5 separate regions of the Homo sapiens genome follow, and regions 1, 2, 4 and 5 are each linked to region 3. Evidence: promoter capture Hi-C in 16 types of primary human blood cells and fetal thymus (Javierre and others, 2016). All regions are on one chromosome and are shown on one strand. Each heading gives the region's core, a stretch centred on a gene start or on the middle of the fragment in contact. The rest is flanking DNA. Distances are from core to core; before and after follow the strand shown. Region 1 overlaps ZSWIM6 (zinc finger SWIM-type containing 6). Region 2 overlaps ZSWIM6 (zinc finger SWIM-type containing 6). Region 3 holds the start of SMIM15 (small integral membrane protein 15). Region 4 overlaps ZSWIM6 (zinc finger SWIM-type containing 6). Region 5 overlaps ZSWIM6 (zinc finger SWIM-type containing 6).

Evidence for each region. The method cuts DNA at HindIII sites, captures the fragments that hold promoters and counts their contacts. A CHiCAGO score of 5 or more calls a contact.
Region 1: a fragment that was not itself captured here is called in contact with the fragment with the promoter of SMIM15 in region 3 in 1 of 17 cell types (monocytes); the score reaches 6.6 in monocytes.
Region 2: a contact is called between a fragment that was not itself captured here and the fragment with the promoter of SMIM15 in region 3, in 3 of 17 cell types (neutrophils, monocytes and M2 macrophages). The highest score is 9.0, in neutrophils.
Region 4: a fragment that was not itself captured here is called in contact with the fragment with the promoter of SMIM15 in region 3 in 2 of 17 cell types (monocytes and neutrophils); the score reaches 7.7 in monocytes.
Region 5: a contact is called between a fragment that was not itself captured here and the fragment with the promoter of SMIM15 in region 3, in 2 of 17 cell types (monocytes and neutrophils). The highest score is 8.0, in monocytes.

The regions. Positions count from the first base shown.
Region 1 is chr5:61,361,220-61,364,155 of GRCh38, reverse strand. The region is part of intron 1 of ZSWIM6 (zinc finger SWIM-type containing 6); the gene reads right to left. Among named protein-coding and RNA genes, the nearest start is that of ZSWIM6, 30 kb to the right of the region's middle. The HindIII fragment of the contact is 177 bases long and covers 1,443-1,619 here.
Region 2 is chr5:61,341,447-61,344,469 of GRCh38, reverse strand. All of the region lies in intron 1 of ZSWIM6 (zinc finger SWIM-type containing 6), which reads right to left. Among named protein-coding and RNA genes, the nearest start is that of ZSWIM6, 11 kb to the right of the region's middle. The HindIII fragment of the contact is 5,685 bases long and covers 1-3,023 here.
Region 3 is chr5:61,160,864-61,164,100 of GRCh38, reverse strand. SMIM15 (small integral membrane protein 15) reads left to right here and starts at 1,633. Exons shown (of 3, transcript NM_001048249.4): 1 at 1,633-1,884; 2 at 2,874-3,013. It overlaps SMIM15-AS1 (SMIM15 antisense RNA 1), which reads right to left and starts at 1,785. Exons shown (of 4, transcript NR_109908.1): 1 at 1,575-1,785. RefSeq lists enhancers at 945-1,004, 1,045-1,144, 1,675-1,934, 2,005-2,084, 1,570-2,466 and a silencer at 1,385-1,494. The HindIII fragment of the contact is 8,836 bases long and covers 1-3,237 here.
Region 4 is chr5:61,401,534-61,404,689 of GRCh38, reverse strand. The region is part of intron 1 of ZSWIM6 (zinc finger SWIM-type containing 6); the gene reads right to left. Among named protein-coding and RNA genes, the nearest start is that of ZSWIM6, 71 kb to the right of the region's middle. The HindIII fragment of the contact is 2,778 bases long and covers 103-2,880 here.
Region 5 is chr5:61,384,161-61,387,275 of GRCh38, reverse strand. All of the region lies in intron 1 of ZSWIM6 (zinc finger SWIM-type containing 6), which reads right to left. Among named protein-coding and RNA genes, the nearest start is that of ZSWIM6, 53 kb to the right of the region's middle. The HindIII fragment of the contact is 1,009 bases long and covers 878-1,886 here.

The DNA.
Region 1 (2,936 bases), core at 282-2,781, 200 kb before region 3:
GGAGGATTGCTTGAGCCCAGGAGGTTGGTACTGCAGTGAGCTGTGATCATGCCACTGCATTTCAACCTGGGTGAAACAGTGAGACCCAGAAAAGAAAGAAAGAGAGAAAGGAGAGAAAAAAAGGAAAGAAGAAAGGAAGAAAAGAAAAGAAAAGAAAGAAGGAAAGGGAGGGAGGGAGGGAGGGAGGAAGGAAGGAAGGAGAGAGAGAAAGAAAAAGAAAGAAAGAGGGAGGGAGGAAGAATGGAAGGAAGGAAGGAGGGAAGGAGGGAAGGAAGGAAGGAGGGAAGGAAGGAAGGAAGGAAAAGGAAAGGGAAGGGAGGAAGGAAGGAAGGAAACAAACTATCCTACAGAGACTACTTAAAACTCTTGGCCTCTAAAGTTAATACCAAAATGTTAAATGAGAAACTGTGTGCCTTTTTAATAACCTTTAAACATATTTTAGCTTACCTCAGGAATGACTTAAACCTCAGCAGTGCTCATATTAGCAAAGTATTTTTACGTCCATCCTTGATAGCTAGGGTCTCTCCCCACCCCCCAAGCCAACTAATCATTAAGGCACTGTGCCAATAATAAGTTTCCGTAATATGATACCAGCTATTTCCAGAAGCTTCATTAGAAAATATGTTGAGTCTAAAATAAGTATGAGAACACTTTGGGATCAGAGATGAGATTGCCGAGAACAAGGGTTTAGTCAGCCTTTTGTGAACTCAGCAGAAGTGTGCAAGGTAAGTACTATAAAATCTTATAGGCAGTTCTGTTACTATTCAAAACTGGTTCTATATGTCACTAGATTACAGGGTATTCTTACCAATTCTATATAACAAACAATTTCAAATAACCAAGAGGTTACTCTGATTCCATGATGACACTTTCCACGAGTTGATGTAATCATTCTTGTATGGATAGCCTTGTAAACTGGTGCTGTTAGCCTGTACTAAACCTTTTCCATTTGATTGGCCTCAGAGGGTTCAGATCAAACACCTTCCTTGCAGGCAGTGCCCCCTGTGGGGTGGGGAAAGGAGGGCACAGTCTCCAATATGTAAGCTGGCTCCCTACAACATCTCTAAAAACATCTACAGTGGCTCAAGAACAGTGTTTTTCAAATAGTGGGTTCCTGAACCACTAAGAGGTCATAGGCCAATGCTGTGTGTCACAGAAAGCATTTTTTAATGGAAATGAGACAGTATTATTGAGAACATCAGCAAGCATGGCATGTTTTAGGGATAAGTCTTGTCTTGTGAAAATCTGTTTCTGTTATTTATAGTAACGTATGTGTGTACTGGGTTGTGATGTAAATTTTCTTACTTTACAGGGGTAGCAGTCTAAAAATGGCTTGAAATGCCTGCCAGACCTAAACAGATATAAAAGATAAGCAAGCAATCAGGAGAGCAGTCAGACCTGGAAATAAAAACTGCAGTCATCACTTGATGGCACAGAAAGCTTTGGGATAATTGGCATAATCTAAGAAAAGGGCATCAGGTAGGAGAAAAGTGCCCAGCCTTAGACGATAGGGACACCAACATTTAGAGGGCAGATAGAGGATGAAGCACCAAAACTCAATGAAGGAGTGGCCAGAGAGGTGGGAGGAAAATCATGAGCTGAGGCTCCCTGTGCAAGCTTCTTCTACTGCAGGGAAAACCTGTAAAACTAAAAGTTAAAGCTGGGCACAGTGGCTCACACTTGTAATCTCAGCACTTTGGGAGGCCAAAGTGGGCAGATCACCTGAGGTCAGGAGTTAGAGACCAGCCTGGCCAAAATGGCGAAACCCCATCTCTACTAAAAATACAAAAATTAGCCAGCATGGTGGCGCACACCCGTAATTCCAGCTATTAAGGTGGCTGAGGCACGAGAATTGCTTGAATCCGGGAGGCAGAGGCTGCAGTGAGCCAAGATGGGGCCATTGCATTCCAGCCTGGGGTACAGAGCGAGACACTGTCTCAGAAAAAAAAAAAAAGTGAGTAAGAAGGCATATCTCAATTTCCCATTTTAAAAAAATAAGGCATGAATGAGGAAGGGTTGGAGAATGTTTATAAAGTAAAGACAGTAAAAGATGCTACAGAGCCTGGAAATTTACTTACTTTGCTGATACATATCTAAGAATACTCGCTTGATATTTTATGGTAAGTACTGTATACCAAGAGAGGATGTTGGTATCCATTTAAACCACCTATTTCCATATGTGAAAACATGTGGGAGACTCACATAATGGTTAATCATTTTAGGTTTGTCTGTTAGCGTTCTAAAGGTGCCAAACTGCACCACAGTGAATCTTGTCCTTAAAGTATATTTTCCACGATCTTCTTGCAAATTTCACACTAAATTTCCTGTGAGGAAAGGATAATAGTTAATAACCTGGGAGCAAATGCTTTCAACATAAAGTATAATAGAATAACAGGGTTGCCTTTTGTTTAGACTGGAGTTGTCCCAAGGCTTTATCCTGAGCCCCTGTCGTTACAAGCCACAGCTTCTAATCTTCTGGGCAGCAGCCTCAGTTGGAGGTAAGGGGGGTTCCCTGGAAACAAACATGAAAATCCAGTATCATGACTACTTTAAATGTCTTTGTCTAGTTCATAACTTCTTACAAATAACCTGTCAGTACTCTTGGTCTTAATAATACAGCACATTTCTGTAGTGGGATGCTAACTTTCTTTTTCAATATTTACTTAGAAAAGAGGTAACTACTGCTCAGGACAATTAGTATGTTACAGAATCAGGAGGATGATACTGAAAAACGGGCCTTAAAAATTATCTTGCCAAGTTTCCTCATTTAACAGATAAGAAACTGGAGATTTTTCCAGGTGATCCAGAGGAAAGAACCTGGCTGTCAGAAGCAGTTAGATGAGGGTTTCAATCCCACTTCTATTACTTTTTCATCACACAAAGTCAGTTTCAGTTACCTTTATTTGTAAAATAAAGGTAACTACCAATCTCACACA
Region 2 (3,023 bases), core at 202-2,701, 180 kb before region 3:
AACAAACTGGAGCTGTGAGGCAAGTTGAGTTCACAGTCTTCCGCACCTGCTGCCCTCAAGTCTCACTTGATTCTACCCTGCCATCATCACAAAGCAGCCATTGGTCATTTCACTCATCAGCTTCACCACTGTCTAGAGAAAAGTATAAACCACAATCGTGAAAAGACTGGCTAGTTCACTGGGCTGAACGTATATCAGACAAAAATTACACAAGTGGTATTTGGGGGAAGAAGGGAAAAAGAACTGTAAAAATGGCATCAAGAATACAAAATCCTGGCCAGGCACAGTGGCTCACACCTGTAATCCCAACACTCTGGGAGGCCAAGGTGGATGGATCACCTGAGGGCAAGAGTTCCAGACCAGCCTGGCCAACATGGTGAAACCCCGTCTCTACTAAAAATACAAAAAATTAGCCAGGCGTGGTGGCACGTGCCTGTAATCCCAGCTTCTCAGGAGGCTGAGGCAGAAGAATCACTTTAGCCCAGGAAGTGGAGATTGGAGACTGCAGTGAGCCAAGATTGCACCACTGCACTCCAGCCTGGGTGACAAGAGAGACACTCTGTCTCACCAAAAAAAAAAAAAAAGTCCAAAGTGCTAAGGATAAGGAAACTTGCAGAACACTAAAAAACAAAGTCATAAAGGAACAGGGCTAACATATTACATATTTAAAAGTTTGCTCACATAAAACAACTAGATTACAAACATGATATTTGGGTTTTAGAATCTTATTTTATGACAAGTACTTATTATAAAAATCACAATATTCTTTGTAGAAATGAGTTAATAGAAAAGGTAGCAGCAGGAGTAAAGGTTCAGCATGACCAGGCCTCTACCAACAAAGACCTACAGCCACACCAGAAAAGACTCCAGGTATGCCCCTTATACCTAAATTACAGAATCCCTACACAGTACTACACTCATAAAAATGCTAGTAACTATCAGCAAACATTTATCACATACAACCTGGCGTATACAAAATTCTAATCTGTACTGATTGTAATTACGTAAGAGAATTTAAAACTTGCTTTTGTGGACTTATTCTACATGGTATCTTCTCATGTATATTTTCTCTATAAAATCTTCCAACATTAGAGATCTGATACCAACTAACAATGAAAAATACTTTAAGTAAACAGACTCTCAAGGCAGGAATAGGGAACCAGTCACCTGAGTTTTAAGCACATTAATTCACTCAATGAGCTTCCAAAGTATCTGATCAGCTTATTCAGTTAGTAAGAGTTTAAATGTACTGACAGGTTCTACTGCATCCTTCCAATTAACATCAGCATTCAGGAATTGCACAGATAAAACCCTATCTTTCAAAGAATGTCAAATCTCTTTACCAGCAACAAGAAATAATATAATTGTAACATTTTAAAAGGACCTTAAAATGAGATATTTAATTTCTCAAATATATTTTGAAAACCTAACTTTGCTGCATATATACGATTAGATCTAACCTGCAAGTTAATTTCTCTTTCAAAACTTAACATCTCATGGAAGATGATCAAAATCACCCAACACAACCATCCTCCAAAGCTGAAATTCATTCCTAAAAGACATTTTTTTTTAATGTAGTAGTTTTTCAAGTAAAATTTTAGAGTTCTGGAGATTATTTGCGTAACAATGTAAATGTACTTAACACTGCTGAACCACACACACAAAAATGGTTAAGATGATCAATATTATAGTATGTCCATTTTAAGACAACCAAAATTTTTTTAAATCCTAATATGTGTAAATATCCTTATGATTTTTAAATAAATCCTCTCAATTGGAAAAAAATAACATTTTAAAATGATACCTTTGATCACAATTTAAAATCCAGGCCACTGTGAAAGTCACTCTAGAAAGTAGCAACACACTGTAAAGCTAAACCTTCTGGAATAGGTAATGATGATGCATCATGGACAGTATTGCTTGAGCACCAACCAAAGAGGCTGCATGTGTCTGGCTCTGTTTTTAACAGCAATAAAAGTTATTTCTACTTTTTTCCCTGTGTTTCGGTTTCCTCATCTGTAAAACGGAAACAATAATGGTCCCTAACTCATATGGCTGTTAAGAAACACAAAAGGAAATGAGGGAAGTGGAATATACTCTCAGTAGGTCTTACTCACTTCTTCTGATTATATTCCAGGGCAGTATTTGGCACCTGGTTAAGTGCTATGAAATGTTAGTTGTTATTACTCTTACTATTAGTAAATGTTGTAGAAGTGTTAAAGAGTCTCACCATAAATCACATCCAGCTGGTTCAGTGAAGAACTGCCCCAAGTCATACAAAAGGCTTTAAAGGCCGGGTGTGGTGACTCACATCTGAATCCTAGCATTTTAGGAGGCCGAGGTGGGTGGATCACTTGAGGTCAGGAGTGCAAGACTAGCCTGGCCAACATGGTGAAACCCCAACCCTACTAAAAATACAAAAGTTAGCCAGGCGTCATGGCGCATGTCTGTAATCCCAGCTACTCAGGAGGCTGAGGCAAGAGAATCGCTTGAACCCGGGAGGCAGAGGCTGCAGTAAGCTGAGATTGCACCACTGCACTCCAGCCTGGGCAACAAAGGGAGACCCCATCTCAAAAAAAAAAAAAAAAAAAAAAAAGGTTACAGAGAGTACTACAGTTTGGAGACCACATCATTTATGTGAAAGAAGTACATATATGTATAGGTACATCCTGAAGGATTATGTGTATACTATTTACCGGTGAAGGAGGAGGAGGCACGTTGACAAAAACAATAAATTATATTTTAAAAACCTGGTCAAATACAAACAATACTGGAGAAGTTTTCATATATACACTAAGTTGAGAGCAAACTTCTGTTGTTCTGTATCAGCACTTCAAACTTTCAGCAAATTCTTTATTATATGGGTATATGTATACATTCATGTAACAGCAAGTCCTCCACTTAATGCCATCAATAGGTTCTCGGAAAATGACTGTAATCAAAATGACATATTACAAAACCAATTTATCATAGGCTAATTGACATAAACAGTAATTTCCTATGGCATATTTCTGGTCACAAAA
Region 3 (3,237 bases), core at 384-2,883:
CACCCATCGCTCACCTCCTGCTGTGCGGCCCCGTTCCTAACAGGCTGCAAACCAGGTACCAGTCCGTCGTTGGGGACCCCTGGTCTAGATTACAGCTAAAGAACTACAAAGGCTTTCTCTTTATATGCCCTTCCTTCCTGCCCAAGACTTCTGGGCTTTTAACTAGGGATGCAGCACTGCAAGTATCCGGAGGCAGTAACTGGGAAAACCACCTATCATGATTAAAATAAAACACGCATTGGCCTCTGGAACGAAGGATGTTAAAATAATACATTCTGCCCACATCTTGGATTCAAGACTTGGGGAAGTTTTAGAAAAATCAGTTATCTCAAGTAAGTATTCAGTGCACACAATCCAGTGACTGAGTCTACTTTTTCTGGCTACTAAGGTACAGGCTAGGCCTAAGCAGCATAGGCTTTGAAACTATCATCCAGGTTTTCAAATAAAAAGGAGTAAGAAAACAACTGCTGGTAATACAACATTACAAACATTAACATATGCCCAACGAACAGTATCGTAGATCGTTAGATTATCTGCCAAAAGCCTGTTCCCTGGTAAATAACAGTTATTGTTGTTTTACCTAAACTAGTTAAACATGTCGCAGCTTGCTCCTGAAAGAGAACATTCTATAGTCTTTGGAGAATCAGTGAAGAGGTCTTGCAACATTTGTCAGAGGTAGTCAAACAGTGCAAGCAATCACAAAATTTGGTCACCAACCAAACCAGATTAGCTAATCTTTCAGTTCCTGTAGATTAGAAGACAATATTAACTCACCCTTTCTGCATGTTGACTTTTGCATCCCTTTATTTGTGTATTGAAAGAACAAGCACCTCTATGGGAACTCTATGCCCTGACAGTTTAATTACTTATCAAGTTTACTCTGGGCCGGTATTGATCATTCTTTCGTGAAACGAATTAGATACTTAAATTAAAAACAAACAACAAAACCCCCCTTTTCACATAGCATGGCGGCATGTCCCTTGGTAACAAGGTTGAGTGGATCCACCAAGGCCCAGTAGCTTGCCTCCTTTTCGTAAGGATGTAACTATTGTCCAACCAGAAGAGAGAGGCATGGAGTGGGATGTGCACCAGGATGAACTCGCCGGAATCGTCAAGAGTCGTTGTGTGACCCTCACCTTGACTTCGGGCGTTTTGTGGGGACCCAACTGCTTTCTTGCCGCTGCTCTTTGGTCTGAGTTTCCCTCAGCCAAACACTTCACCCACCCATGACCCTCCAACTGTCCCGCTACAGCAGGGGATGGGGGTTGTCTTCCGATCGACCTCGGGGGGCAAAGGCAAAAGTCCCTAGCTGCTTCGGAACCGCTCCTCGAGTCCTGAAGCCGCTCCACGCCTCCTCGCCCACCACTTGGTCCCCGCAGGACGTGGCAGTCTCGGGCTCCAGCCTGGAAAGGAGCCCGCCCGGGTGCCGTCACCCGCCCCGCGCGGCCTCACCTGCCGCTCCCCGGAAATCTCAGCGCTGCCCTGCCCCCGCCCCCACCCTCCCGCGTCCTCCAACTCGAGGTCCCAAGACCCACACAGCAATGGCGCAGCCGGAAACTGGGCCCTAGACTTACTCACGCCCGGCTGGCGGCTCGGGTCGCCTGTGGGCGGGACGCAAAGGCCGCGACTTCCGCCTTCCTGCTTCCGGTCTGGCGGTGAGTGGGGAGTGGGATCCGATCCCGTGGGGCTATGTAGGGGAAGTTGGTGGCTGCAGCTGCCGTGGTTTTCTCCTGGTGTCCAGCAGAAACGGCGGCGGCGCAAGGTGTGGCTGGGCCAACCCAGGATCTCCCAGGACCCTCCGCTCTGCGCGACAAGGGGCCCGCGCTTGCCAAGGCCGACGGGCAGGAGTGAACGTGGCCTCCGTGGGTCTGCAGCCCCGATAGGGTAAGGAGGGAAGAGTGAGCAAGGGAGAAACGTAAGGAATAAGGGAAAGACAAAGGAGGAAGTGCGGACGGCCGTCAAGTGCTACCCGTTGCAGCCGCAGGGGCCACGCGGGTCTGGTTGGGAGATCGAGCCTGGTCGATCCGTTTTGGGCGGAAGAGTAGGATTTATTCCTGAAAGTGTGGAGGCGCGAGCGTTTGGGTCCGAAGTTGAGTTGCAGGGAGATGTGTGGCCTGTGGACCATGGCTCTTTTACTGCAAAGTTCTTTTGCTTATTTCTGAAACTTACATTGTTTATTCGCTACTGGGCTGGAGAAGGTGAAGGCAGATCGATCTCAGTAGTACCTAATTCTAACTGTATGGGTGAGGTCGTATGAAGTCCAGGAGCTAAGATATTTAACGTATTAGGCACTTTCATGTGTGTTCAGTTGAAAATCGTGGGGAAGATATAATTAAAACTAGTCACAGTTTTCTTGGGGTAATGGGACTGTGGGTGAATTACTATAATTTGTTTGGTTATGTCTTCTAATTTTTTAAGTAAAGGACACAAATTGTATGATGGACCCAAAAAAACCTTTATAAAGAGTAAGATGAGCTGTTTGATTTTGTAGTGGTGTACCTAATCCAGTAAATAAATGAGTGGCAACATTTTTAGTATAAAAATTGAAAATCTAGGAACGGATACGCTGTGTAAGTCAGTCAGTGAGCCAACTTGTCTCCCGTATGTCAATGAACTAAAAAAATTTTATTATTGAAATAAGTAACTTAGTAAAATACTTGATTTCCAGTAATTAGGATTTTCTTACAGGGCATTTGCAATTGTAAATTCAAATGAGGAAGAAACGTATTAAGTTACTATACCGGATAGGCAATTTTAGATGTCATATAGGTTGCATATATACAATATAGAAATTTTCCATTTAAAATTTTATTACAATTATCCTGAAATTGTGACTTAAATTTTGTTTTATTTTTTGTATTCTTTCCAACTAGCCAATTGTACAGAATTTAAACCGTCTCTCAGATGTGTACAGTAGAACTCAAGAAGACAGACTACCAAGGGTCATCTGAAGTCGTGATTGGGTCACTAATAACACCAGGACAAAGTTAAGGGATCACTACTCAAGCATAAGGTAGATGATTTTTTTAAAAAAATTCCAGTTGAAATTGTAAGTGGATGTATATACACTCATTCCCTACCCAGGTATTCTAATTCTCCACTTTGAATAGCGGTTGACACAAACATGAAAGGGAGAAAAGCCTCTGGGGCAAAATAGAAAACGTCACTCAAGTCACATAATCCTCATTTGCCAGTTGCCTTTTCCTTACACTCAAAAAGGAACAAAACACATGGCAT
Region 4 (3,156 bases), core at 242-2,741, 240 kb before region 3:
TGAAATCCCTCTCCTCTCTTGGACTTAGCTTCTCTCTTCTACTTCTCTCCCAGCAAACAAAGAGGCAGCTACTGGCAGAAAAGAATAGAAAGAGCAAAAGCTTTAGCAACAGTGGCTATAGAACTTTTCTCTTTAAAGTTCATCTTCCCTCCTCTACCATAAGGTCTGCTGCCTACCAACAAATCCTAGCCAAAGACAGCAAAACAGGGATGGGAGTTTGCCTTGAGAGGTGGTAGCCATGGCTTAGAGGAGCTGGAGACAATGTGAACTTCAAGAGGGCGATGGCAGCCCTTTGAAATTTTTCATCTGCCTTAATTTATGCCATTCTTTCCCCTAAAGATCGGAAAGTAAATAAAAATTTAACCATTGGGAACAAGGGGAAAAAATGCAATCATTTTAAGAATGCAACTGATAAGTGAGAAAATGTGAAGGAAAGTTTTCCGGTGGTACAAAAAATACTTTTTTAACATCCTGGCTAATACGGTGAAACCCCATCTCTACTAAAAATACAAAAATTAGCCGGGCGTGGTGGCAGGCGCCTGTAGTCCCAGCTGCTCGGGAGGCTGAGGCAAGAGAATGGAGTGAACCCGGGAGGCGGAGCTTGCAGTGAGCCAAGATCGCGCCACTGCACTCCAGCCTGGGCGGCAGAGCGAGACTCCGTCTCAAAAAAAAAAAAAAAATTACTTTTTTAAACCTCCCAAGATGGCTACTGAAGAGACCTCAATAAGTCACCTAATTCATCCTGGGAAGACAAGACTACAGTTAAACTATCCAAGGAAAGCTACTCAAAAATATACTTCAGGGAGTGAATTCCCACATAATTTAATTTCCTCACTGTCAAAAACATCACTTAATTATCAAGAAGCTCCCAAGATTGAAAACTAAGAACTGCACATTAAAAACTGCTTCCTCTTATGACAAAAATCTACACTGGCCAAAAAAGGTTTCCACTCACACGCAGAGTCTAAGCATACATTATTTTGTACGATTCCAGAATCTTGTTTACAGGCGTGTATTCCCTTCTGATTTTATTCAAAAGATTCTCTTTTCTTTTCCAAGTGTGCTTTCTAAATCTGAAGACAAAGTGTTCCTTTTCCCAGGCTCCTTCTTCCCTGGCCTCCATGTGATGAGGCACCCATGCGAGAAATAAAGGAGCTATAGGGCTCATAGTGGTCTTAGTTGTTAGTCTGTGAAAGGCTGAAGTTGCTAGCTGCATATGGATTAGAATTTTCCTGTTTACAATGGTCCCCTGCTCTATAGCAAGAGGAACAGGACTGACCACAGGTCACATGGTTTAGAAATCTTAGGCCATTTTTTACATTTTAATTTTTCTAAACAACATGGCTTTAAGAGCCCAAGAGAGTTCTAAACCCTAAAAATGCTATAATTTTGGTAATAAAGAACTGGGCCCCAGGGAATAATTACTCAATTTTAAATGGCTGCCTCAACTGGAGGATTTTTAAAATAAATCCTGCTGATGGTTTCAAGATAGTCTTAAAGGACTAGAGTTACCTCAAGAAAGCTATCAAAGACATGTGTCCTCAATTAAGTCTGAAATCTTTGTTTCTTCTAAATCAGATGTGTAAACTTGGCAAGTGACATCCACTTGTAAACAGCACATTATTCCTGGTGTAATGCACAATTACTCTCTTAATTTTACCATGAGATCCAGAGTTAGATACATGCATTTACCACCTTATTACCTAAGTGTACAACATAAGAGCAGAGATTTTTGTTTGATTTGTTCATGTGTGCAAATCATTAGCAATTAGTGAATGCTACACAATTAAATTACATACAAAAATGAGTTAATTTCTCTCATTCATTTAGATATAAGGTTCAACTATAAATACAGTGAAATATAAATAAGATATTATGCCCAAAAATACAAATTCTAAATATTCCCATAGGGACAAAGTAATAATTATTGTGGGAATAACAACTTTAAATTTCCTAAGTTGTTATTGGATACAAATGGATACTTAACCTTTAAGGTGCAAAACCTTATATTGGAGTTCCAGTTTCCACATTTAGCCCTAAAGCACTGTAATCTAGAAACCATACAGTATCTTATTCTCTGAAGAAAGTTAGTCATTAAAAACACCTTCATTTGGTTAGTTTCTGGACATAGTACTTCCTGTTTTTCTTCCTGGGGGGAAAAAAAAAACAAACTAGAATCTCTGGAATCCATGCTACAAAATTTTAACTTAAGTCTATACTTCAAGCAATTAAGGTTTCATATAAATCAGAAAACAAATCTAGTTAAAGTAGAATTCCAACTATAATGAGTGACATAATGGCAAAATTCCATTGTAGTTTTAAAAGATCTGCTGTAACTAAAAACCACATTAGAACTTCAAGCATTTATGGATATATCTTCAAATTCATTCTCTCCATTGAATCATTCCTTCCCCTAAATGTACTTAAAATTTTCATAGTCATCTTTTCTAAGGTTCTTTAATTCTACAGAATGTGTGCTCTATTTGCTGCTTGATACTTTACACTAAAAGGCATCCCAAACACAGAAATATCTACAAACTCAGGATGTACATGTTCCATTAACGACATTTTAAAGGTGACAAGATGATAAGAAATCATTTCCTTGAATTTTATCCCATATCTAAGACTTCCAGAATATTTTTTTTTCAGTCTCTCCTTTTACCCCTGGAGCTAGGGTGAAAAAAAAAGAGAACAGGTATCAGTGTGGATGCTGCTAACATAAGCACACAGATATGCAAGTACTTGGCAGGAGGGAGAAAAGGGGAAGGACAAAAGAAATGACAGCAGGGAGAGGAGACTGGTCTTGCTGATTCATAAAATGCTTGGCTTAATGGGACATTTGGGCAGTGATATTATTTTGAAAACATTTATGCTAAAGCTTCTTTTGTAGTATATCAAATTAAGAAAAGGTCATATAGGTTGATGCAACTAAGTAAATTATATTACAAAGAACAAGTTACAAAATACAATAATGCAGATGTGGCCTACCCTATAAACTACCTCCATGTCAAATCTGGATACCTCTCTTTAGACAGATAATTTATGTAGTATTTCTGATGCACCATTATCCCATTACATTCTTATACAGTATGTTTTTTACTAGCTATTTTTCAGGTAAATGTCATTCAGATTTTTTAACCTATCTCATATACCTCA
Region 5 (3,115 bases), core at 133-2,632, 220 kb before region 3:
ATGGAATGGACACAACCCTAGTTTTCAGGCAACTTATATAAATATGCTGTTTGGTTGGGGCAGCCAATTTACTGTATCTTATTACTGATATTATCCATTTGCTGACTGGGGGAAAGTGTAGATTTCTCCCAAAAGCAGATGGCCAATCTACCATAGAAAGCTATTTTCTGACATAAGCAACTACCAGCAGAGAAGTAAACTCTCAATAATCAGAACAAGTCCTTTTGAACTCTATAGAATGCTCATTATCAATATCATAAATAATACAACAAAAGGCAAAGGCTCCCTTGAAAAGAGTCTTAACAACTAAAGATAAAGGAACCGGCCCATAAATGAGTGGTTGGTAGAGGGCATTTGGCAGGAGCACGTGGATAAAGAGCCTCAAAAATAAAATGAGAGCTAGTAATGTTCTCTGAGACAGTAAACTGTTCAAAAGTATGAAAAACATCTTTAAAACCCACACAAAGGGATTTTTAAAACAGGAAAATCTATTAACCCACACGTTGTTGGGTTATTTTTCTTAAGTACACACATGTTTTGGAAACTTCAGAATCTCAAAATATATTCCTGATTAGCAACACTCAAGTTTCCAGCTGCCTTTACATTTGTTCACTTTGTCAAAGCCCTAATTCTACCAAAGTCCTTTGTCCTGTACAAATGCCAGCTCAGCTCACCTTACTAGAAAGGCTCTTCTGGTTTTGTCAGCTGTGCCCATGATAAGCAGCTGGGGAGTATGGAAAAACCATTAACCATTGACTGAAAAAGAGGGTAGCCATGGAGTTTCACCATTTGTTGCAGAAGTGGTTATAAAAAAAATGTAAATCAAAAAATGAAATTAAAAAGACTATTCATTGCTCCACACCTGCTCCAAAAAGCTTTGCAATCACCAATCCATGTAAAACAGCCACAGCCCAATTAAAGGAAGCATTAATCCTTGCTTAAACAGAGAGAGAAAAAAACTAACAAGGTACAAAGCAAAGGCAAATCACTCCGGGCAAATAACTCAGAAGCAGGAAGAGAAATGTCCACAGATGCACTGGGGATAAACCAAAGGTCTTTCTGAGGTCTGTGTTTCCCTGATGTAGTACTCTAAATGTATGGCATATCCAGGGCAGAGAAACATCAATTTGGAATGTATGCAGGAGAGCTTTTTACAACTTCAAAGCATTGAAATGTGTTCCTAATTAGTATGAAATATATGAAAACCAAATGCAGATTAGGCCTCAAATATTTCCCATCTTTAGCATAGTCCAATTGCTGGGCAATAGTGCCACTGTTTCCATTCCCTCCTATGCCTACCTGTGCCCACCACCTCAAGAAGTGTGGCTATTGGGAGGGTTCTCCCCCTGAGCCTGTGCAAGAACCCCACTGAAAACCCCACATCCAAAGCTGGCCATGAGTCGAATCCAATCAGGCACCAACAGTCTGGGGTGTTTGCCTCTATTCGAAAGACAAGAGAGCCAGTGGACATCATCACTATGGCTAGCAGGATTATGCACACCCTGGGGCACAGGGGCTGAGGGAAGCCTCCCAAAAGAACTGAATGGATTTTCAATGAAGAAGCCAAGTAAACTACGCTGCCTGGTTATGTTAGACAGTATGTGCTATACAGAGGATGTGCATTCTAGTATGAAACAATGAAAGAGAAAAGAGCATTAACATTGATAGAATGCCAATGCAGGGGCCAAGATACTAGAAACAAATTATCTCAATTAATGCAACTGAGGCCCACAGGAGTTAAAAACTGGCCCCAGGTCACAATGGTAGTAATGGCTAAAACCAGGATCTAAACTCAGGTCTAACTACAAATTAAGTGTTCTTTCTGTCAAATCGGATGCCTTTCATTATTCTTCTCATTTATCATGCCGCCCTGAAATAGTTAAGCTTCAACTATGGTCATCTATAAAGGTGATGTCAAACTCAAGAGTGAGCCGAGAATTTCCCGGACAACCCAGGAATACATGCTGGCTTGGGAGAACTCCTTTAAACTCTAAAATGTTTCCCTTTTACCACTTTTGATAAAAATATTTCTCAAAATATTTGTCTTCTTGAAGAGAATATACCAAACACCATTAACCAGTATTTGTGTTGTCCATGTCCATGGAGTTCTGCCATTAGAAATGACAGACTGCACTGCACCTTAGAGATGGAAGGGGCTGCACAGACCACTTAGTCAAACCCCAGGACTGCAGGAGTTTCCTCCAAGATTTTTTTTTGAGACGGAGTCTCACTCTGTCTCCCAGGTTGGAGTGCAGTGGCACGATCTCAGCTCACTGCAACCTCCGCCTCCCGGGTTCACGCCATTCTCCTGCCTCAGCCTCCTGAGTAGCTGGGACTACAGGTGCCTGCCGCCACACCCAGTTAATTATTTTTTGTATTTTTAGTAGAGACGGGATTTCACCATGTTAGCCAGGATGGTCTCGATCTCCTGACCTCGTGATCCGCCTGCCTCGGCCTCCCAAAGTGCTGGGATTACAGGTGTGACCCACCGCGCCCGGCCTCCTCCAAGATTTTTACAAGATGGCAGAGCAAAAAAAGTGAATATGAAAAGAAGGCCATTTACATATGGTCCAACAGACCTAAGATTTAAGCAGTTTGGGGGACACAAAAGTTCTAATATTCCATCAACATTCAAAGTCACCCCACCAGCACCTGAGTTTTATCCAAGCAAACAGAAACAATAATCTCACTAAAGCCAAACTGGTCGCCTATCCATCTTCACACTTTCTAAACCCCATAATCTCATGAATTCAGACTCAACTGTTCATCAGGTTTTATGAGAGTGGTGGCTTGTTTTAGCCTTTGTGAAACTTTCTTTCTTCCCTGCCCAGACTCAAAGGGCTATGTATACTTTTCACCACCATGCATGTTCTAAAAACTTTTATTCAGTTCAGAAGAATTCTTACCAGCAAAGATCAAAGAGCTCTGTTTTAGCAAAGAAAGCAACATTTTATCTGGCAGAATTCTTAGGTGTCAGTAAAGTAGTAGTGTTTCTCAGTAGAAATTTTTTTTTTTTTTTTTTTTTTTTGAGACGGAGTCTCGCTCTGTCGCCTAGGCTGGACTGCGGACTGCAGTGGCGCAATCTCGGCTCACTGCAAGCTCCGCTTCCCGGGTT